5 separate regions of the Homo sapiens genome follow, and all the other regions are linked to region 5. Evidence: promoter capture Hi-C in 16 types of primary human blood cells and fetal thymus (Javierre and others, 2016). All regions are on one chromosome and are shown on one strand. Each heading gives the region's core, a stretch centred on a gene start or on the middle of the fragment in contact. The rest is flanking DNA. Distances are from core to core; before and after follow the strand shown.

What was found. The method cuts DNA at HindIII sites, captures the fragments that hold promoters and counts their contacts. A CHiCAGO score of 5 or more calls a contact.
Region 1: a contact is called between the fragment with the promoter of SNU13 here and the fragment with the promoter of CENPM in region 5, in 11 of 17 cell types (endothelial precursors, total CD8 T cells, naive B cells and 8 more). The highest score is 11.0, in endothelial precursors.
Region 2: a contact is called between a fragment that was not itself captured here and the fragment with the promoter of CENPM in region 5, in 1 of 17 cell types (endothelial precursors). The highest score is 5.1, in endothelial precursors.
Region 3: a fragment that was not itself captured here is called in contact with the fragment with the promoter of CENPM in region 5 in 5 of 17 cell types (total CD4 T cells, naive CD8 T cells, megakaryocytes and 2 more); the score reaches 5.8 in total CD4 T cells.
Region 4: a fragment that was not itself captured here is called in contact with the fragment with the promoter of CENPM in region 5 in 10 of 17 cell types (activated CD4 T cells, total CD4 T cells, naive CD8 T cells and 7 more); the score reaches 10.4 in activated CD4 T cells.

Annotation. Positions count from the first base shown.
Region 1 is chr22:41,687,363-41,690,315 of GRCh38, reverse strand. It overlaps SNU13 (small nuclear ribonucleoprotein 13), which reads left to right and starts at 1,449. Exons shown (of 3, transcript NM_001003796.2): 1 at 1,449-1,522. The coding sequence starts at 1,520. It also overlaps the pseudogene C22orf46P. RefSeq lists enhancers at 1,350-1,529, 2,080-2,249 and a silencer at 1,769-1,968. The HindIII fragment of the contact is 2,689 bases long and covers 1-2,386 here.
Region 2 is chr22:42,370,756-42,373,579 of GRCh38, reverse strand. LOC124905126 (a long non-coding RNA gene) reads right to left here. Exons shown (of 2, transcript XR_007068114.1): 2 at 1,754-2,118. Among named protein-coding and RNA genes, the nearest start is that of LINC01315, 3.0 kb to the right of the region's middle. The HindIII fragment of the contact is 1,667 bases long and covers 718-2,384 here.
Region 3 is chr22:41,656,455-41,659,191 of GRCh38, reverse strand. XRCC6 (X-ray repair cross complementing 6) reads right to left here. Exons shown (of 13, transcript NM_001469.5): 10 at 2,160-2,289; 11 at 840-940. Among named protein-coding and RNA genes, the nearest start is that of SNU13, 31 kb to the left of the region's middle. The HindIII fragment of the contact is 1,473 bases long and covers 706-2,178 here.
Region 4 is chr22:42,439,314-42,442,013 of GRCh38, reverse strand. It overlaps LOC101927344 (a long non-coding RNA gene), which reads right to left. Exons shown (of 6, transcript NR_188414.1): 2 at 1,410-1,523. Among named protein-coding and RNA genes, the nearest start is that of NFAM1, 8.3 kb to the right of the region's middle. RefSeq lists enhancers at 1,298-1,377, 421-1,420. The HindIII fragment of the contact is 3,228 bases long and covers 1-2,700 here.
Region 5 is chr22:41,945,615-41,948,554 of GRCh38, reverse strand. It overlaps CENPM (centromere protein M), which reads left to right and starts at 1,403. Exons shown (of 6, transcript NM_024053.5): 1 at 1,403-1,535; 2 at 2,059-2,138; 3 at 2,550-2,642. The coding sequence starts at 1,479. It also overlaps a transcript of SMIM45 not described here. RefSeq lists an enhancer at 1,390-1,599. The HindIII fragment of the contact is 15,549 bases long and covers 1-2,940 here.

The sequences.
Region 1 (2,953 bases), core at 200-2,699, 260 kb after region 5:
CTGCGGTCTGCTTGATTTCTTTCTTCCTATGAAATACTTGGATCTGCCTGTCCTTCTATTATCAAACATTTAATGAACACTGTATTGAATACATGTATTCTTGTTTAACCACTCAACATGCCTTTCTCGTTGCTTGCAGTATCCTGATTTCCTGTGGGGGAATTACTTTTCCCATCTTAGGATCAGTGTTGGTGGGAAAATAAATGTTACCCTGAAGACTCTTTTACCCAAAAGTTCTATTCAAAATATTAAATATCTGAGCAGGCAGGGACGTCAGCCAATTATAATGAGCCAGGCCTTAACTGTTTAGTGGCTGGAATTTTTTTTTTTTTTTTTGAGACCGAGTTTCCACTCTTGTTGCCCAGGCTGGAGTGCAATGGCGCGATCTCGGCTCACTGCAACTTCCACCTCCCAAGTTCAAGCGATTCTCCTGCCTCAACCTCCCGAGTAGCTGGGATTACAGGCATGCGCCACCACGCCCGGCTAATTTTGTATTTTTAGTAGAGACGGGGGTTTCTCCATATTGGTCAGGCTGGTATCGAACTCCCAACCTCAGGTGATCCGCCCGCCTCAGCTTCCCAAAGTGCTGGGATTACAGGCGTGAGCCACCGCACCCGGCCCTCTTTTTTTTCTTCTTTTTTTTGAGACGGAGTCTCACTCTGTTGCCCAGGCTGGAGTGCAGTGTGCAGTGGTGCGATCTCGGCTCACTGCAAGCTCCGCCTCCGGGGTTCACGGCATTCTCCTGCCTCGGCCTCCCGAGTAGCTGGGACTACAGGCGCCCGCCACCATGCCCGGCTAATTTTTTGTATTTTTAGTAGAGACGGTTCACTGTGTTAGCCAGGATGGTCTCGATCTCCTGACCTAGTGATCCGCCTGCCTCAGCCTCCCAAAGTGCTGCGATTACAGGCGGGAGCCACCGCACCCGGCCGGCCTTTTTTTTTTTTTTTTTGAGAGTCTCGCTCTGTCGCCTCAGCTGGAGTGCTAGAGTGCAGTGGCATGATCTCAACTTACTGTAGCCTCCACCTCCGGGGTTCAAGCGATTCTCCTGCTTCAGCCTCCTAAGTAGCTGGGGTTACAGGCGCCCGCCACCACGCCTGGCTAATTTTTGTATTTTTTAGTAGGGACGAGGTTTCGCCATGTTGGCCAGGCTGGTCTCGAACTCCTGTCCTCAGGTGATGCGCCCGCCTCGGCCTCCCAAAGTGCCGGGATTACAGCCATAAGCCGCTGCGGCCGGCCGGTGGGTTACTTTTTGAATGTTTAATTCATTGTTTCTGCCAATAATTTGTACTAGGCAGCTCATAAGAACGCCAAAGTACGTTCCTTCTTCGACACAGGGCCAGTTTCCGCGCCAGTGCCCCCGTAGAGGGCGGGGCCCACTCGCTCGCGTAGCGTCACCTTCGCTTCCTGCCGCGCGGGGCCATTTCCGCTGCTGCTTCTGTGAGTTTTTCCGGTGCACGCGAGTGCTTCTGAAACGTCAGCTGCGCTCCCCTAGGAGTGCTGAGCCCGCGGAACCGCAGCCATGGTGAGTGCGTGCGCCGGCCGAGGGACCGGGAAGCGGGAGACTCAGGGTTGCGTTCACTCCCTAGCCTGTTAGATGGAGGCTTAGAGCCTGCGCCGTCTCATCCGCCGGCGTTGGGTCTTAACCGCCGGGCCCTTAGTTAGAACCCCAGCAGCGGCGGGGTCCCAGCAGCCTGGCCCGAGGTTAGAACTCAGGAAACCTTAGGATCCCCGCAGCTGTGTTGCTTTGCCGCACGGTCTGTTTGCTTGGCAAAAGGCCTGCAGCGAGCGGAGGGGGCATGGCCCAGCCTGGGAGAAAGAGACCAACCCACGTGGGAGAGGGCAAAAAGTTGGGTGAAGAAAACTTGGCTCCAACTTTTTTTTTTCCTTGTTTCTTTTCATACGAAATCTACGATGGCGTGGGACCCTGGGATTCGGATCAACCTCTCCTACCCACCCTACCTCACCCCACCCCCGTTGCTGGGGTTCAGGAGGAGATCTCCCATGGGTCTGCGCTTAGTGCCCGCCGCGAGTCACACGCGCCAGGGACCTAGAGGAGCCTTTGGCATTTGGGGGCTGTGGGGAACATGAAGTGAGCGCGACTCACGGCCTGGAGTGCAGGAAAGGCTTCTCCTGCAAGGCGGTGGCTTCAAAAACCAGAAGTCTGGTAGCACCACGTGCGGCGTCTCTAAACTCTTGGTCGTCTCTGACTTTTAAACATCTAGGGAAAGTTCTAAAACGTGTGTCCTGGCGTAGTAGTTTTGGTTGGCACTTGGTGAGGAGGGAAGAATTTGTAAAGCACTGTAACTTCTATAGTTAATCCTTCCAGTGGAGCTTGGATCCCGGCGGTAGCACTCCCCACAAACCTCCTCCCATGCATTTTGAAGCTTAGTACGTGGCTGAGCCTAGAACTTGAAGCTTCCAAACTCAGTGCTCGCTTTAACGCAGCTCCCTGAAACGTTTTGGAATCGGATGGTCTCAGGTTGAACTTTGCAGTTTTCCTCAACTGTAAAATGGGGATGACAGTGCATGAGGGTGTTGTGAGGATCAAATGAAATAAAGCATGGTAAACATCTAGTCCTGATGCTTGGTACAGAGTAAGCACGCAGTATTTGTTGTTCAATCAAAACCTTGCAAGTTTTGGCTGTCTGGTGTACAGCGAAACCAAACTGATCATGCTAGGTAGGGATTTAGGTTGGCTGGTGGTATGATATCATTCGTTAATTTATTTAACCCCTGAAGAAATTGAAAGGCAAATAAATACACCCTAAGCAAGTTTCAATTAGTGTTTATAAGCTAGTTTGGTTTTAAAATTGAGTTTAACTTTTTTGTTGACTAATAGTGAAACATTTAGGTATTTAATGATTGTTCAGATTCCTGAAGTCTTCCTCTTTTATGAATTTGATGTTTATTGAGATTTGAGAATCCTGATTTCCAGAGAATGGGTTGTTGGAAA
Region 2 (2,824 bases), core at 302-2,801, 420 kb before region 5:
GGAGTCATCTTCCAGTTGTTCAGGGGCAGGCACCAGCTCTGGGGCAGTGTGGAAGAGGAAAGTGAGGCTTGGAGGGGGGCACTGAATGCTCAAGATCACTCAGCTGGCAAGAGGCAGAGCCGCTGAATGTGTGGCCATGAGATGACCAGGGCACCCAAGCCGAAGGGCTCGTGAGGAAAGAGGCCACACTGGCTGCCCACTGCCCCTAGGTTCCAATCCCGGCACCCATCTGGGCCCACATAGAATTGGACCATTCCTGGTGGGCTTGGCTTTAGGAAAACCTGATAGCAAATTCCAAACCAATAAGAGCAAATAAATGAGGGGTGATTACCGACAATAAGAGAGGATACACTGCAGGGTGCCTCCAAATCGCATCTCCTCCAGTACGTTTTAAGTGCTTTATAGGTCATTAACTACTTGACAGAGAGAGCCTGACACTTAAAGCAAAGAATTTGGTACCTCTGCCAGGGAAAATCAATCAGAAATGAAGCTAGAGCATCAGAGGCGTTAAGATTTACTGGGTAGGCCAACGGGATTCAATTGACGCAGAATTTTAAGACCCTCTCCACTGTGTAAAGTAAGGCACACTGGTATTTGAAGCCATTTATAAATCCCAAACTAGAATTTAGAAACACTTAACCTCTCCCCTGCCATTTTTGTGTGTGTGTGGATGTTAATGAAATATTTCGAAGACATGGAAAAGTACAGAGATAAGCTTAAGCATCTAAGTCCCCCATCTGACTCTGTCAAATGAAATATTGCAGCTATGTGCAGCTATGATTGAAGCACCCACTATTTTTTTTTTTTTTTTTTTTGAGATGGAGTCTCTGTCTGTCGCCTGGGCTGGAGTGCAATGGTGCAATCTTGGCTCACTGCAACCGCAGCCTCCCAGGTTCAAGCGATTCTCTTGCCTCAGCCTCTCAAGTAGCTGGGACTACAGGTGCGTGCCACCATACCCAGCTAATTTTTGTATTTTTAGTAGAGACAGGGTTTCACCATGTTGGCCAGGCTGGTCTCGAACTCCTGAGCTCAGGTGATCCACCCACATCGGCCTCCCAGAGCGCTGGGATTACAGGTGTGAGCCACTGTGCGCAGCCAACAGGTGCACCTCTAGAAAGAGGGTGCTTCGGATGGGCACAGTGGCTCATGCCTGTGGTCCCAGCACTTTGGGAGGCTGAGGAGGGAGGATCACCTGAGGTCAGGAGCTCGAGACCAGCCTGGCCAACATAGTGAAACCCTGTCTCTACTAAAAATACAAAAATGAGCTGGGTGTGGTGGTGCATGCCTGTAGTCTCAGCTACTAGGGAGGCTGAGGCAGGAGAATTGCTTGAACCCAGGAGGCGGAGGTTGCAGTGAGCGGAGATCGTGCCACTGCACTCCAGCCTGGCAGCAGAGTGAGACTCTGTCTAAAAAAAAAAAAATTGGTGGGGCATGGGGGCATGCACCTGTAGTCCCAGCTACTTGGGAGGCTGAAGCAGGAGAATCACTTGAACCTGGGAGGTGGAGGTTGCAGTGGACCAACATTGCACTACTGCACTCTAGCCTGAGAGACAGAGCGAGACTCCGTTTCAAAAAAAAAAAAAAAGTGCACCTGTTTTTTCTTCCTGGCTTTTCAAATCCTTTCTGTCTTCTGGCTCTGCCTTGTCAGGGAGACCTAAGCTGACCACCCACCCCTGCCCAAGACATCACTCCTTCCTCTGAAATCAGAGTGCAATTACTGCCTCTTTAATTAGCTTGGCAATTAATCACCAGCTGCTTATGAAACAGCTTTTATTGTCCTTGTCCATCTTGGGATGTGGGTGGGAATGAGGACCAGGCAGGAAGAGGGAGGAGGGGCAGGCAGGCAGGGCCCTGCTCTGGCACCAGGCTGGGCAGGGTCAGCTGAAAAGGCCTGATGTCCAGAGGGTCGGCTGCCTCCCAACTCTGTTTCCACAGCTGCTAGGCACCAGGATCTGTGTAGTCCCAAGAGAACAGTGGGCAGCGACAGGGACATCCACCTTGTGCAGCCCTGGGGCCTCTGCTCTCGATGTTCCCTACTAATCAAAATGTTCTTTCCTCATTGAGCCTTGTTGAACTGTGTCCCCCAGAAAGATATATTGAAGTCCTGACCGCCGATACCTGTGAATGCAACCTGATTAGGAAATAGGGTCTTTGCAAATGTAATCTTCTTAAGATGAGGTCATACCGGATTAGGATGGGGCCTAAATCTAATGACTGATGTCCCTATAAGAAGGCCATGTGAAGACAGATGCAGGGAGCACTCATTCACCACACCACCAAGCCAGCTCCTCCTCTTCATGCCTCAATCTGGCTGCCTATGGGAGACAGGCTCTCAGCATTTTTCTAGTTGATTAACCCTTCTCTGCCCAACTCCGGGAGAAGCTTCTACACCTTCCTTTGTCAGAGGAAGCCCTCTCCCCCATCCCATCTCATACATCATCTCTCAATCAAAAGGACCTACTTGGGGGGGCATCCCAAGGACCCCCTCTCCATCAGAGAACAGCAGCCGGGAAGTCAGTCTGCTTCACGGTGCTCCCCATGACTTCCACAGGAAAATCCACCCCAAATGCCCCAAACTGTCAGAGTGGGCAATGCAGCATGGTTTGAGCAGAGTGCTTCCAACTTCCCCTGTGATGGGGGTGCAGAGGGGGGTTCAGGGGATGGATTCCCAGGAAGGGAAAGAGCCCAGCAGGTTACCAGGAATTTAACATGGAAGCAGAGGCTGTGTCATTCATACTGCCAAGCACAGTGCTGGGTATAGCATGTTCAAGCATGTTCATTTAAATGACACTTTTTTTTTTTGAGACAGAGTTTCGCTCTTATC
Region 3 (2,737 bases), core at 193-2,692, 290 kb after region 5:
TAACACTGGGGCTATTTTGTCTAAAATAGATCATTCTGAGACCAGCCGGGCCATCATGGCGAAATCCCGTCTCTACTAAAAATACAAAAATTAGCCGGGCGGGGACCAACTGCTCGGGAGTCTGAGACACGAGAATAGCTTGAACCTAGGAGGCAGACGTAAGCCACTACGCCCGGCTGCGAGTCGCTGGATTCTAAACCCAAATCCACCACTTATTTCCTCTTAAATTATTTATTGATTTTTTGTTTTTGTTTTGTTTTTTGAGACAGCGTCTCGCTCTGTCACCAGGCTGGAGTGCAGTGGTGCAATCTCGGCTCATTGCAGCCTCTGCCTCCTGAGTTCAACCGATCTTCCTGCCTCAGCCTCCCGAGTAGCTGGGACTACAGGCACACGCCACCACACCCAGCTAATTTTTTGTATTTTTAGTAGAGACAGAGTTTAGTAGAGACAGAGTAGAGACATGTTGGCCAGGATGGTCTCAATCTCTTGACCTCGTGATCCACCCGCCTCGGCCTCCCAAAGTGCTGGGATTACAGGCATGAGCCACCGTGCCCAGCCTCTTATATTATTTTTTAAATTTCACCAGCATGTAGTCACAGGGCGGCCTAGTGCAGAGGCAGGTCTCAGAAGCCTGACACTCTCCTCCTCTCACTATGGAACCAGCCAAATCTGTTCCCTGGCTGTTTAAGCTGGTCTGGAAAAGCTTCCAAACAGAGGGGGTCTGGGGAATGAGGTTAAGTGTTTAGAGAGGACTGGGAAATGCACCCAAATTACTGGTGCAGAGTGGAACCAGTAAGAAAGCCTCCCATGAAAAGAACTACTCTATTCAACCTCCTTACATGTCAGGTCCACTGCTTGTTCCGGCTCCATCAAATCCAAGGCCAAGGCCTCCAGGTTCCTGAAGTGCTGCTGCAGCACGGGGTTCTCAAAGCTGTCACTTCTGTTAAAACAATAATGTAACTCAACTGAAACATGACAATTTAAACATTGAAAAAATTAGAATAAAACCACCTGAGATACTACAGGTCCGGGGTGAGCTGAGAAAAACACCCCAAGTAAAACAGTTGAGGTCAGGTGCAGTAGCCCATGCCTGTAATCCCAGCACTTTGGTAGGCCAAGGTAGGCGGAATGCTTGAGTCTAGCAGTTCAAGACCAGCTTGGACAACATGGTGAGACCCTGTCTCTACAAAAAATTTAAAAATCAGCCAGGCATGTTGGTGCACGCCTGTGGTCCCAGCTACTCAGGAGGCATAGGCAGGAAGACTGCTTGAGTCCAGGAGATCGAGGCTGCAGTGAGCCATGATCGTGCCACGGTACTCCAGCCTGGATGGCAGAGCAAGACTTTGTCTCAAGTCAACTTAGAAAGCAAACCAGCCTGGGCACCCTGGCTCATGCCTGTAATCCAGCACTTTGAGAAGCTGAGGCAGGCGGATGGCTTGAGCTCAGGAGTTCCAGACCAGCCTGGGCAACATGGTGAAACTCCGTCCCTACAAAAAATACAAAAATTAGCCAGGTGTGGTGGTGCAAGGGTATGGTCCCAGCTACTCAGGAGTCTGAGGTGGGAGAATCACCTGAGCCCAGGGAGGTCAAGGCTGCAGTGAACTACAGTAACACCACTGCAATCAAACCTGGGTGACAAGAGACCCTGTCTCAAAATAATAATAATAATAATAATAATAATAATAATAATAATAATAATAAATTTTTAAAAATGACATGTGAAAAAAATTACGTTTAGTGTCCCATTATGCAGGCTCTGAGAGTTGGTCTATTATATATGTGAGAGGGAATGACTTGAATTACTTAATCATTCTTTTAAGCCTTTAACAATTTACACTAGATTTATTTACTTTTGCTCATTGTGGAATAACAAACACAATCAAGGAGAAGGGCGAATAAGAATCCTGCTATTTTTTCAAATTTGTTCAACCAACTAATCTGGCTAAGTACAGCACAACAGAGAAACCACAAAATCCCAGAGTCTCCAACATAATAAAAGGTTCCATTCTCTATATGGCTTTCAAAAAACTATTAATAACAAGTAGTAATCTGTCAGTTTGCTGAAAAGAGTAGTGCCATTCTCTTGGCCTATGCCCAAGCTGTTTCTAATAAGATTTTCAACTCAGGAGGCAGTTCCAGAAAGCCTGAGATTGACTCACCTGTATGTGAAGCGAAGCTTCTCAACGATAGCCTTCATCTTGCCCACCTGCTCTGGAGTTGCCATGATTTTTTCAGTAAAGGGCATCTTCCTTTTATCATCAGCAAAGGGTAAAAAGACCAGCTGGAAGCCTGAAGAAAGGAGATAAATTTTCTTTGATTTGACTTCAAGTGTTGCAGTCACTTGTTTCTCAGCTCCAAATTCTTCCTTTTATGTCCTGTGGTGCTGGGGCTGGGGCCCCGTAGGCCCCATTTCTTGAACTCCACCAGCTGGTTTTTGTTATCATCTGCCTAACAGACTCCCTCTGCAGTTTCCAGAAGACTGCAAGGGAGGAGGGGTGCCCCTTCCTGTATACAGTAGATCCCTTATCCCTGGGGAATATGTTTGAAGAACCCGGGAGGATACCTGAAACCTCGGACAGCACCAAACCTGACTGCCGTCAATTGAAACATGTTTGTCCATGTCATACGTTCATAAATTTAATATTTAATGTTTTTTTCCATCTTTTTTTTTTTTTGAGATGGAGTTTCACTCTTGTCGCCCAGGCTGGAGTACAGTGGGCAATCTCGGCTCGCTGCA
Region 4 (2,700 bases), core at 111-2,610, 490 kb before region 5:
GTGGTGGCACATGCCTGTAATCCCAGCTACTCGGGAGGCTGAGGCAGGAGAATAGCTTGAACCTGGGAGGCAGAGGTTGTGGTGAGCGGAGATTGCACTTTTGCACTCCAGCCTGGGCAACAAGAGGGAAACTCCATCTCAAAAAAAAAAAAAAAAAGAAAAATAAGGGAATAATCTGAGCTCCACAGGGGGCTGTGAGGTCTGGTGTGTGTGCAGCACCTGGAGTACTCTGGATTCCTTCACCTCTGCCATTCTTTGCCCCTTCCCTCGATCTTTCCTGCTCTGTGGCCCACCCTGTGGTCTCCATGCCTTCTGCTCAGTGCAGGGCTATTACCCTGGCCAGACATCCTTAGGGAGAATAGATCCCAGAACCTGATCATGTCTTTTTCTAAATCAAAATGACGAGTATACAATCTCAGCCACTGAGCAAGGTCCTGGAATGAGGATGAGACAGAGGAGAAGGGCAGTCAAGGGGTCTTCCAAAACAGCTCCCTTCCTAAGGGCCACCCCGAATGGGTCCCTGCGAGGAAGGAAGGGCCTCGCCATGAGGGAGGCCCAGGTGGTTCAGCATCACCAGGCACCCACAAGACAAGCATGTAGGGACGGCGCCCTCATCCCAAGAGGAAGGAAGGGCCTCCTGGGGCCCAGAAGGGGCACAGCAGAGGGTATCCTGCAGCTGGCTGGCCCTGACCCCAGCTGGAAGGAAATGGGGGACCCGAAAGGAGCCAGGGGTCTCCCAGGAGCCATGTGTCCATGGTGAGGGGACCACAGTTCCAACCTCCATCCTGGTCAGACCCTATCTGAACCGGAAATGCAGGCTGGGGTCCCCCACGGAGAAGGGTCTGGAAGCCATGTTGGGAGGACAAACAGGACCAGGGATGTCTTGGCCTGGAGAAGGGGAGGCTGGGTGGCCACAAACCCCCATCCACACCTGCCGGAGATGCTGGGGAGAAATTCCCAGGGAAAGGGCTGTTTACCAGGCCAGGCTGTGGGCAGTGGGGAAACAGAGTAGAGGGGGCGGGCAGGGGACCGAGCCTCGAGGCCTCCTGCGAACCAGGGACCCGGTGGGGAGGGGCTGGTGACCCAGGAAACCCCTCCTTCCCCTAGCCCGCCTCCTGGGCTTCTGGGCCTGCGTCCAGGTGGCTGGGCCTCGCCTGTGCAACTGGAAGTGAGGGGAGAGGAGGGTCCAGCGGGGTGTTCTCTTTCCAGGTGCTCTCAGCGCTTGCCCAGGCCGCCATGGGGCTCCCTTAACACCCACGGAGTTGAACGAAAGAGAGACCCCGGATCCGAAGCCACCTGCCCTCTTTCCTCTGCCCCCTAGCCAGCTCCTTCCCACCTAGTGCCAAACGCAGCCTCTCAGATTCTGACCTCCACTTTCCACAAGCCGGTGTGACCCAGGTCCTACTTACCTTCTATTAAATTTAGTAGAATCCACCGAGGTGCCCTTTTCACCTGCGCATTAAGGGAAAGGGCTCCACCTTCATGCATTCATTCAAGAGATTCCTGATTTTCGGCCTAAGCACCTGCAGAGAGGAAGTGGGGCCTGAAGCAGGACCGGGGAAAAAGTGAGGGGCTGCAGCGAGCTCCGGTCTAGCTGGGAAGCACAGACACCTCTAGAGGTTATCCCCAGGCAGTGTGCCTGATCCTAGGATTCGAACCCTAGCCCCACCTCCACTGGCCACTTCACCTTAAAACAGTGACTTCCCTTCTCTGAGCCACAGTTTCCTCATCCGCAAAATGCAGACACAATAGCACCTGCCTCGCAGCATGGCTTAGAGAACAGACTCAGCCAAGCGTCTGGCAAGTAATCCTTTCCCACCTTACGCCACCTCTTCCTCATCTTGCCCTCACCCTCACTCACTGGCCATGCCCAGCAGCTGGTGGCCCAGTGCCCAGAAGGGGGTCAGAAAGCTGTGGCCACCTGAAGCCAGGCCCTGGGGTGGGTGACCAAGGGCCTCCCGCCCACTCCTAGGCCAGCCGCTCCTGGCAAGTGCCCAAGTCCCCGTCCCACGGGCAGCTCAGAGATGGCCTGGCCCCATGCTCCTTGTTTGACACAAAATCAGCAGACACCGGGAGGAAAGAAAAGAAAAGGGAAGCTCAAGAGAAACAGTGACTCAGGCACAGGCTCCCTGCCAGGCAGACAAAAACGCCCAAAACACTTTCGTTTTGCCCCAGGGGAGTTTCCTGGGGAGGGGGCTTCTGCAAGTGAAGCCTTTGGTCACCTGTGACCTGCTGGAAAGATCATGGTCCAGAGATCCAAAGGCGGATTTTCCCTCCCTCTGATTCTATTCCGACGATGGAGGGCAGACTGGGATTACTGTTGATCTGCACACCCCTGGGAGATTTCTGGTCCTAAAACAGCATCTTGCCTGTAGTCCCAGCTACTCAGAAGGCTGAGGCAGGAGAATCACTTGAACCCGGGAGGCGGAGGTTGCAGTGAGCCAAGATCGCACCATTGCACTCCAGTCTGGGCAACAGGAGTAAAACTCCGTCTCGAAAAAACAAACAAACAAACAAAAACAAAACAGCATCTCCTCAGTGTTGCGGGGCATTTTGTACAGAATGGATGTTCGAGTCCAATAAGTGCAGGAAGTCTCTAACTTCCCAAGGAGCTGTCTCCCAGAGAAAGCCGTTCCCACTCAGAAACCGGATTATAAATGACGTCGGGCTTCCAGGAACCGCCCGAAAGCTGCTGAACTC
Region 5 (2,940 bases), core at 154-2,653:
GCCGTATCTGTGCTGAGGGCAGTGGCTCTATGGGGCCATTTACGTCCTGATCTTTCTGAGCAAGACACAGTTAGTTTAGTCTGCAGTAAGAAGGATTTAGGCTAGACAGTGTCTCTGCTCTCCCAGTTATTACAACAATGAACACACTGTTATCATTGTCTATCCCACCCCCATCAAACTAAGTTAATCAATAATGTCTGATTCAACTGACTTCCTAGGGTAGGGCATTGGGTCTGGGCATAGGAAATGATGAATGAATGACTGCTGAGAATGAATGGATGAATGTAATCCATCCATTCACTCAACAAATATTTATTAACTACGATGTACCAGGGACTTTTAGAGTGCTGGACATACAAAGTGACAAAGTCTCTAACCTCTTGTTTCTTACATTTTAGATGTAGAGACAGTGAACAAGTTATTATATAACTGTTGGCAGAACCAGTTTGCTATGGGCCCTGAGCGTCCCTGCATGTTCTTGCTGGGTATGTCAAGAAAGCAAGACCCTGACAGCTCTGTACTCAGGCTGTGTTTGCAGCAAGGAACCTTGAAAGATGAGGTAAAGTCTCCCATTGGACAAAGAACAGCATGCTTACCACTCACTGTAAAAGCAGTCAATTGGCAGGGCCTGCTGGTGTGCAGCGGTAGTCCCAGCTACTCAGGAGGCTGAAGCAGGAGGGCTGCTTGAGGCCAGGAGTTTACGACCCACCTGGGCAACATGGCCAGATCCCCATGGTGGCACTTGCCTGTAGTTCCAGCTACTCAGGAGGCTAAGCCAGGAAGATGACTTGAGCCCAGGAGTTTGAAGCTGTAGTGAGCTATGATCGTGTCACTATAGTCCAGCCTGGGCAACAAAGTGACGCTCCAAAAAAAAAAAAAAAAAAAGGGCCAGGCACGGTGGCTCACGTCTGTAATCTCAGCACTCACTTTGGGAGGCCGAGGCGGGATCACTTGAGGCCAGGAGTTTGAGACCGGCCTGGGCAACTTGGAGAAACCCCGTCTCTACTAAAAATAAAAAAATAAGTCGGGCGTGGTGACGCGCGCCCGTAGTCCCAGCTCCTTGGGAGGCTGAGGCAGGAGAATCGCTTAAACTCGGGAGGCAGAAGTTGCAGTGAGCCGAGATTGCGCGCATTGCACTCCAGCCTGGGCCACAAAGCGAGACTCTGTCTCAAAAAAAAAAAAAAAAAGTACTGTGTATGAGCATGAATGAATGAAAGTGAACAAAGGAATCACTAAAAACCTGCTTACTGTGGAGCGTGGAACCAAAGGCCTGTCCACCACGTGTTCCACGGGTAGCGCTGGAACGCCCCTCAGAAAAGGAGATAAAGGTTCGGTTCCTTTAAGAGGCCCCGTCCCGTCCCGCGAAGCCCCGCCTATAAGGAGGCACGTGCCCCCAGGCCGCGCTCTAGGGGCTGGACTCAGGGCGGTTTGAAAGATCGGCGCGCACCGCAGGAGCAACGGTTGGTCCTGCGGCTGTGATGTCGGTGTTGAGGCCCCTGGACAAGCTGCCCGGCCTGAACACGGCCACCATCTTGGTAGGTGCAGGCGGCCCTGCTTCCCCCGCCGGTTTTTCCTCCTGGGCGGTGCTTCAGCCACTAGGTCAACTGAGCTCTCTGAGGCGCCAAGCCAGCGCGCGCTACCGTGGCGGGGGCGGGGAATAGGCGGAGAGCCATGCTCTGAACCAATTGGAGTAGCCGCTCTCTGAGGTTGAGGGACGCACCCACCAATAGGTGCTCGGCGGACCCTTTCCCAGCTTCTGATTGGCGAGTTCCCGCGCCTGGAATTGGTTTTCCCGCGTCTGGGGGTCTGGCCTCCTGGAGAGGCCGGCGGTGGGAGCGAGGGTCGGGTAGTAGAGAGTGCGGTGCCCACAGGCCTGCAGCGGGTCCAAACCTCAGGCCCCCAGCCCGTGCCGCTTCGCGGGGTCCACTTCTCGGGAAATGTCCTCCGAGCCGCCTGCTGGCGGTGTCCCGATCCCCCCGGGAGTGGGTCGAAGGGCCAGGCCCTCCCCAGGGGGTGCTGTGCCTAGGGCTCGACTGTCCGCTCTCTCTCCCTGCGCAGCTGGTGGGCACGGAGGATGCTCTTCTGCAGCAGCTGGCGGACTCGATGCTCAAAGAGGACTGCGCCTCCGAGCTGAAGGTGTAAGTAGCCGCGGCTGTGGCCTGGGCCCACGTGTCTCTCACTCCAGAGGGATTCGGTCCTAGCTGCTAAACTCCGAAGCCCAGCGCCCCCTCCTCTGAGGCTGGTCCTTCTCCCAGCATGCAGCGTAGCTGGCTAGTCCCATGCCGTCTTATATCCCAACCTCCCCTTGCCGAGGTGGTGACTAAACAGAGCCCGTTTCTGGCAGAGGGAATCAGACAGGAGTAATCTGAATAGGACCGGACCTGTCCTGCCTCTGTGCTGGCCCAAGGAGTCGTGGCCACAAGAGCCTCGGGTGGCTAGGATGAGGTGGGGAGCCCTTGACGGCCTCTTTCCACATGAAGGGCAGCATTTAAACGGTCGCTATGAGGGGGGTACGGATATCTTGAGTCCTGCAATTTCCTGTTTTTCAGCCACTTGGCAAAGTCCCTCCCTTTGCCCTCCAGTGTGAATCGGCCCCGAATTGACCTGATCGTGTTTGTGGTTAATCTTCACAGCAAATACAGGTGAGAGCCAGAGGAAGGGGCAGTCAGGGCTCAGGCAGGCCTGGCTCAGGACTGTGCTGAGACGGTGACCTAACTTGTGATGGGAAGTGGTGAGGATGGGAGAGGCTGGCTGAGGTCAATCTGTAAGGTGAGGAGAGAGGAGCCAGTGGTCAGTGCACAATGTTTAAAATACACAACGGCCGGGCACAATGGCTCACACCTGTAATCCCAGCACTTTGGGAGGCCAAGGTGGGCAGATTGCCCGAGACCAGCCTGGGCAACATGGTGAAACCCCGTCTCTACTAAAATACAAAAATTA